Regions from separate parts of the Homo sapiens genome. Here region 2 is linked to region 1. The links are contacts of gene promoters, found by promoter capture Hi-C in blood cells and fetal thymus (Javierre and others, 2016). All regions are on one chromosome and are shown on one strand. Each heading gives the region's core, a stretch centred on a gene start or on the middle of the fragment in contact. The rest is flanking DNA. Distances are from core to core; before and after follow the strand shown. Region 1 holds the start of TIMM8A (translocase of inner mitochondrial membrane 8A). Region 2 has its middle 2.2 kb from the start of TSPAN6.

Region 1 (3,680 bases), core at 816-3,315:
TAAATACCAAATACCTCGGGGGCTTATGGGCCATGGCCATCAAAAAGAACCTTAGTCGTAGGCCGGGCGCGGTGGCTCACGCCTGTAATCCCAGCACTTTGGGAGGCTGAGGCGGGGGAATTACCTTAGGTCAGGAATTCGAGACTAGTCTGACCAACATGGTGAAACCCGGTCTATACTAAAAATACGAAAATTAGCTGGGCGTGATGGCGTGCACCTGTAATCCCAGCTACCTGGGAGGCTGAGGCAGGAAAATCGCTTGAACCTGGGAGGTGGCAGTGAGCTGAGCTCACACCACTGCACTCCAGCCTGGACAACAGGGTGAGACTCTGTCTCAAAAAGAAAAAAAAAAAAAAACCTTAGTCTTTTTGTTACCAGTGGTAAAAAAAAAAAAAAAAAAAAAAAGGTCCCAGGTACTCAGAATCCCTGCTCAGTAATACAGCCTGTGGTTTTGAAATATTAATCACTAAAAATTATCACATGGGATTTCTGTTCTGCCAACCACTTGAACTTGTTTGGTAGCCATTTTTCACTTGAGGATCCAAAATAAGAATGTGTTGTATACAGTTACATAATGAACTTGCCCTCAATTTTGATCAGTGTGATTGTCAGTTTAATTTGCAAATTGTTCTTATCACACTAATAACCTGAGTTACTAAAGATGAAAAGTGCACAAAGACTTTATGGAGAGCTGCTATTTCTTTTTTTTTTTTTTTTCCTTTTGTAATCGACAGGGCATGCTACTGGGCATAGAGCATATATTTAATAAACATTTGCTGCTTACTCATTGCATTTCCCTTGAATTCTGGATTCTAGCCACTCTAACACTTTACTTTTTCTTTGGTTTTAGAAAGCAGATGAGCGTCCCACTTTCAAAATTCTTCTGAGCAATATTCTAGATGTCATGGATGAAGAATCCTGAGCTCGCCAATAAGCTTCTTGGTTCTACTTCTCTTCTCCACAAGCCCCAATTTCACTTTCTCAGAGGAAATCCCAAGCTTAGGAGCCCTGGAGCCTTTGTGCTCCCACTCAATACAAAAAGGCCCCTCTCTACATCTGGGAATGCACCTCTTCTTTGATTCCCTGGGATAGTGGCTTCTGAGCAAAGGCCAAGAAATTATTGTGCCTGAAATTTCCCGAGAGAATTAAGACAGACTGAATTTGCGATGAAAATATTTTTTAGGAGGGAGGATGTAAATAGCCGCACAAAGGGGTCCAACAGCTCTTTGAGTAGGCATTTGGTAGAGCTTGGGGGTGTGTGTGTGGGGGTGGACCGAATTTGGCAAGAATGAAATGGTGTCATAAAGATGGGAGGGGAGGGTGTTTTGATAAAATAAAATTACTAGAAAGCTTGAAAGTCTTTGGTATCTCTATTAATCATGCAGCCTCCCTGAAGCGCCCTATCTCAGTATTCCAGAAAGCTGCTGTGTAGCATTAGTTTGGCATATTCCTACACTGAGAACTCGACAGGATCCTCCAGGTTTAAGCCCTCTTGTTAACTCCTGCCTCTGAATCAAAGATGCATTAAGCAAAAACAGTGCCTGTCACAGCACGCATGCAATGTTATTTGAATGAATCTGAAAGTTGGGCACAAACTGCCATAGCCTCATTTCCCTACGTCGGGAGAGGAAAACTCCATCAAAAAACGAAAGCCAGGGGCCCAGGATAGCCAACTAATCGACCCAGTCAACTAACTGACCCAGTGCACAACTCTGGTAGCTCAGAAAACGCGGGCTAATTTGGAAGTGGACAGGGGCGGAGCTGTGGGGCCAGCACGGAATGGATCACGTGGTCTGAAGTAACTTCCTTTTCTCCTTTCTTTTCTTTTTGGAGTAACATCTCAACGGCACCTCGGCTCTGGGCTGTAAGCCCTGCGATCTCAAGGCGCAAGGCTGGGCGCAACGGCAGGGTTGCGGGGTTACGGGATTGCGGGGTCCGGGGAGTGGAACCCGCCGACTCCGGGAACGAAGCACCGGCGCCAAGGTGTGGGAGGCGGCGGGGTGGAGTTGGACGCCTGCCTCGCGCCGACGCAGTGCACTCACGGGGGCGGTCCCAGAGGCAGCTAGCTGTGGTTCCGGTTCCGTCGCGGAGACACGTGAAGGTCGGTGCGGAGTTCGTCTCTGCAAGCTTGGTCGCCCTGGGATGGATTCCTCCTCCTCTTCCTCCGCGGCGGGTTTGGGTGCAGTGGACCCGCAGTTGCAGCATTTCATCGAGGTAGAGACTCAAAAGCAGCGCTTCCAGCAGCTGGTGCACCAGATGACTGAACTTTGTTGGGTGAGGAGCCTGGGGCTGGGACCTGAACACTGTACCTACTTTCCCTCTGTCCTTGTACCGCGGGACTCGCGACAACGTCGGGGATTCGGGGTGGGGGGCGGGCACCTGGCAGCAACCCTTGATTTTCTCAGGTTCCTGTGGCCTAGCCGGATGGGAGAAGGGTGACTCCGCTTCTCTGGGGACTGTCATTCCGGACCTCGGCTTTGTTGGTGTAGAGGACTGGGTATCAAAGAAGACTTATGCCACTGGACACCCAGCACTTTCAGGCACCCGAGGTTGAAGCTGCCTAGTGCTGGTCACCAAGACTGATCGGAGCCCCCAGTACTGGGATTTTATTTTTGGCAGCCCGAGTCCCAGAGAGTCAGTGAATCAGTGAATCTGCTATTCCTGGACTCCTCGGGATTTACCTTCATTACCCAGTTCTAACCCTCTCCGCTGAAAAATGAGTGGCTCCAGCCCAGTAACTATAAAAGTGGTGTAATCTCTTCCAACGTACATACTTATTTGCTTTCTTGTTGGATTGTTGTGTAATACCAAGCCGTTTTGGGTCTGAAGGTTGAGGAATTGAGCCTGCCCTGTGAGGGGACTTTGGCAAAAGGGTGGAAGGTATTTGCAGCTTGCCAACAACGTGTTCTGCTTGCCAAGGACAGATCTCCCTTAATGTACACAATTCACAGAATTCAGAGGCCAAGGATAATTTTCCTTGGAATTAGAGGGTCTGAGGCTTGTGTACATGGCAGAGAATAATGAACGAAATTTTTGAACCACTTAACTTGAACTATATACAGTCATTGGTTTCCATAGGCCCTTTCCCATAAACTTACAGTATTGCTGGACTATGACACCTACCAGATGCTTACTTAACTCTGGTCTGCCTTGGACCAGAGTGCTTTGATTCTTTTTTAAAAATATCTGTGATTCGTTACTTTGGGGCTAGGAGGGCGTGTGGTTAAGTACTATTGCAAGAATCTGTAAGCTGCCCGGCGCGGTGGCTCATGCCTGTAATCCCAGCACTTTGGGAGGCGGGTGGATCACTTGAGGTCAGGAGTTCGAGACCAGTCTGGGCAACACGGCGAAGCCCTGTCTCTACTAAAAATAGAAAAAATTAGCTGGGCGGGGTGGCACCCGCCTGTAATCCCAGCTACTCAGGAAGCTGAGGCACGAGAATGGCTTGAACCTGGCGGAGGTTACAGTGAGATCATGCCACTGCACTCCAGCCTGGGTGACAGAGCCAGACTCTGTCTCAAAAAAAAAAAAGAAAAGAAAAGAAAGGAAAAAAAACTGTAAGCTATGATGAACCCCTTAGGAAAATGCATTCAATTTTCCATTCATCATGACAGGATTCAAGAATCTCTAGCTTAAGTAGACAAGGTTATAGAATCTCAAGTCATATTTTTTTTCTTCTT
Region 2 (3,680 bases), core at 1,020-3,519, 710 kb after region 1:
CTGCACTCCAGCCTGGGCGACAGAGCGAGACTCCGTCTCAAAAAAAAAAAAAGTATTTATCATGTCTATGTGTCCCAAACTGTATATTATGAGCTTTTTTGAAGAAGGCAAGATCAGGGATGGAAAGGGAGGAAAGGTTTCACAGAGCATCTGAAAGGAGTGGATGGAAAACAAGGGCATAAAAATAGACAAAGAATAGAATTTCAGAGAAGGAGAATGGGAATGCACAAGAGACAATAGAAATAAAGAGATATTCCATTAACGAAATGGATTTTTAAAACTGTACATATGAATTAACTGTTTAAATAATGAGGTATCTGATGGCTGTAACATAAAATATGAGATATTAAGAAAATAAGTAGGATGCGCCTTTAAATTCTATGATAGGCACTTAGCCAAAGGTAATTGAAGGGATGCTAGAAAAGGGATTAGAAAATGAAAATGGTAAAGTTATTATGTGAATAAGAGATAAGATGTACACTCAGCGATACAGTTTATTATTATTATTATTGTTGTTGTTATTATTTTAGTGGTTCCTGAGAGAGAGAGGAATGTCCCAAGACATTATCTAGGTACTCAATTTAATTTTTTCTGTTTTATTATAGTGTGATACTGGGATGGCTTAGACATTTAATTTTTTATTTAATTTCAACAATCAATCCTGAGTAATTACTATGTGGTTGCTCCCAGAGACCAGTTATGACCTCAATGAGCAATCAGCTCAACAGGGATTGGCCGAGCAGAAAATGAACTCATCAATTGGGCATTATGTCCTAGGGTACTGAGGAGAGTATAAAAGGGGGCATAGGGGCCCTGCCACACTAGCTCTTCAGTAGTTTCTGAACATCTAGACGGTAGGATGTAGAATAGGTAAGTAGAAATGCAAAGCAGATATTGCAGTAATTGACTAAAGGGCTGGGTTAATGGGAGTGAGTGTGTAGTTAAGACAGTTATGGTGTTAGAGAAAGAGGTGAGGAAGGAGGGACTTTTTACTGAGTTGGGATTGAACTGGATATTCAGTAGAAGCAGAAAGTATGAGTGAAGTTGAGGGTGGGCAGGGACTAGGGAATAGGACTTGTTTAATTGGGGGGTTGATCATACTGACCTGGTACAGAGCAGAAAATTCACATTGGAAAAGCAGTAGGAAATCAGTTGAGATTGTATTGGGATGAGGGGCTTGGTAGGGATGGAGGGAGGCTGGAGGTGGCACAAGGGAGGTCTGACTTAACAGTGAGCCCTTGTTTATGTCATTTCCCTTGCCTGATGTCTAGCAATGAAAAACATTTACACCTAATCTTGAAGGTTACAGGAAATTAATTGGGAAGGGGGGCTACTAAATGTTCCATGTAAAACAAGCAGTAACAATACTTAAAGTATTTTCCTTTTTTCCTACATTGTTGGCATCAAATTGTGTTTCTGTGCTCAGAAAGAGGGAGAAATTAAGAGGTTGAACAAGAAAAAGTACTGAACTCTCTGCCTTACCACTCTGGGGCAGGTAGGGTTACTTCCTAGGTGGCTGGGCTATTGGAGTGAAGGCAAAAGCCAAACTCAACCAAAAAACCCCAAGTGCAAGGCAGAATTGGGGCAATCATTGAGGTTCTTAAGCTTCAGAGGCTCCGAGGAGTCCTTGTTTTAGGTTAAATGTCTGTGCAACAGCAGTCTTTACTCAGGTTACTCTGCGCAGAGGCAGCTGTACGTACAACAGCAGCTATGTTTCATCACAAAGTGGGCCCCATTTCTGATGAAAGACACAGAAGTTGCCCAGGTTTAGTCCTAGGCAGCTTACTTGGTCTCTTTCAACCTGTTTCTTCATCTGTAAAATGAAGGTGCTAGGTGTGTCAACCTCATAATAGGGTTCTTGTGATGTGTGCATACGAGGTAATGTGTATCAAGCTCTTAGCAATAGTGGTTGGTATACAGTCAATACTTATTATCACAGTCATTATTAATACTTTAAAGAATACATTTATCTAGTGGCCTAGGGAAATACTTCTTAAATTGCCTTAAACGGGATTAGATGCCCCTTTGGTCTGGGTTTGTACCCAAACCCAGGCCTAGGTTTGAACTAAATTGAATTTCTCGGTTTGGTGGCATTGTGGGGGTGGGGAGATGGAAGTGGGTGTAGCAGAGTAGGAGGCAATGGTGCAAGGTGTTGTAGCCATAGGAATATGAATTTCCATGTCAGCATTTGGTTTAATTTGGCACCGAGTGTTATTCAAACAAAGCAGCGTTGTGAGTGGTAGAGGAAGGGAGAGGAGGAAAGTCAACACATTCTTGGAAATAAGATGTGGCTTTTGCTTTGCTATTTTGTTTTTTCTTCAGCTACAGACATATTTCTTTGCTCTTGGGCTCACACTGTAAATCCCTTTCAGTACATATCTAAGTTTCAGAGAAACTTCTCTTTAAGATGACAAGAAGTTATCAAGACTTCCCTTGATCCTTGTTTTTAGTATAAGAACCCTTCAGTTGGGGTCATTTAGCCTAGGGAGAAATCTTTGCATATACTTAGACACCCCCCTCCACCATGTTGAATATTTGGTATTTCCTAACGACTTTACCTCAAAGTGTTTGAAGGTGTATGTAGATGTATCGTTTATCCATTCTCTCCATGTATTTGTGTATTAGGCCTTTCAAATTTTAGTAAAAATTTTAGTATAAAGCCTGGCAATGCAATAATTAATTTTCCAACAGTTGCTGCCTTGCACCTCAGACGTCTGGCAAGATGTTATAGGAACTGGTCCTAGGTCAATATTCGAAGCACAGGGAAGCTCTGTGTGACCAAGTCAATGGAACTTTCCTGTGTTCTGGTCCTGAGGTGTATGTTTAAAGCAACGTTTCAAGCAGAAAAGTTTGAGTATTCATCTCTCCTCCACAAATGCAGGTCTTTTTGCAATGGCAATAGAGTAAATAGCCACTTGTGATATTAAGCTTGTGTCAATGATGAAGGGTTGGATTGCATAGGGAACTGATACAGCCTTCTAACCCCGTTCCTCTAGAGATAACACAAACTCACTTAACACTCAGTCTCTGCCTTCAAAGAGCTGACGCTTTAGTTGAGAAATCAGACCTTAACGCACCTCCTGTGTTGTAACAACATAGACCAATATATTCACAATATATAACATTAGGTTTTAATCTCTCTGTAATCAGCTGGGTTTTGATGGGAAAAACCAGGTGGCTGGAATGTACAGTGCCTTTCTGTTTTAACATTTAAGAGGAGGTCACACTCACCAGGGATTTTTCCATTGCACTCTCTCTTTTTAAAAGTTTACAGCGAATAGCTGAACTTACATTTCACTATTATGTAAAAATACTTTCCCTCAACTTTCCAATTACTTAGGGGATAAAAAAGGAGAGGAATACTGGGGTTTTGCAAAGTCCTGCAGGTAAATTCTAAAGTCATTATTATCTTTAATACCTAGCTTAGAAATTCTTTCAACAAGTGGTGATTATTTTCCTCCATTCACATCTCCCCTTCCTAACCCATAAAACAATGTTCACAAATTGAAAAGCACACAAGTGAGAAAAAAATCAGCCTAATTCCACCAGAGGTAAATTTCACTGTTCCTTTCAGTTTTTGTCTAAGCACACGTGACTGTATGTATTGCTTTGCAATCCGCTTTCTTTTTGCAAATATATTTCTTGTGGGTATTTTCCCATGTATTTTCTTAGGTCGCTTT

What was found. Contacts are between HindIII fragments. The CHiCAGO score rates a contact against its expected background, and 5 or more counts as called.
Region 2: a contact is called between a fragment that was not itself captured here and the fragment with the promoter of TIMM8A in region 1, in 3 of 17 cell types (fetal thymus, non-activated CD4 T cells and naive CD8 T cells). The highest score is 6.9, in fetal thymus.

Annotation. Positions count from the first base shown.
Region 1 is chrX:101,347,127-101,350,806 of GRCh38, reverse strand. TIMM8A (translocase of inner mitochondrial membrane 8A) reads left to right here and starts at 2,065. Exons shown (of 2, transcript NM_004085.4): 1 at 2,065-2,274. The coding sequence starts at 2,143. BTK (Bruton tyrosine kinase) reads left to right here. Exons shown (of 19, transcript NM_000061.3): 19 at 851-1,357. The coding sequence ends at 922. RefSeq lists an enhancer at 2,094-2,143. The HindIII fragment of the contact is 777 bases long and covers 1,353-2,129 here.
Region 2 is chrX:100,637,135-100,640,814 of GRCh38, reverse strand. No RefSeq gene overlaps it. Among named protein-coding and RNA genes, the nearest start is that of TSPAN6, 2.2 kb to the right of the region's middle. The HindIII fragment of the contact is 1,323 bases long and covers 1,608-2,930 here.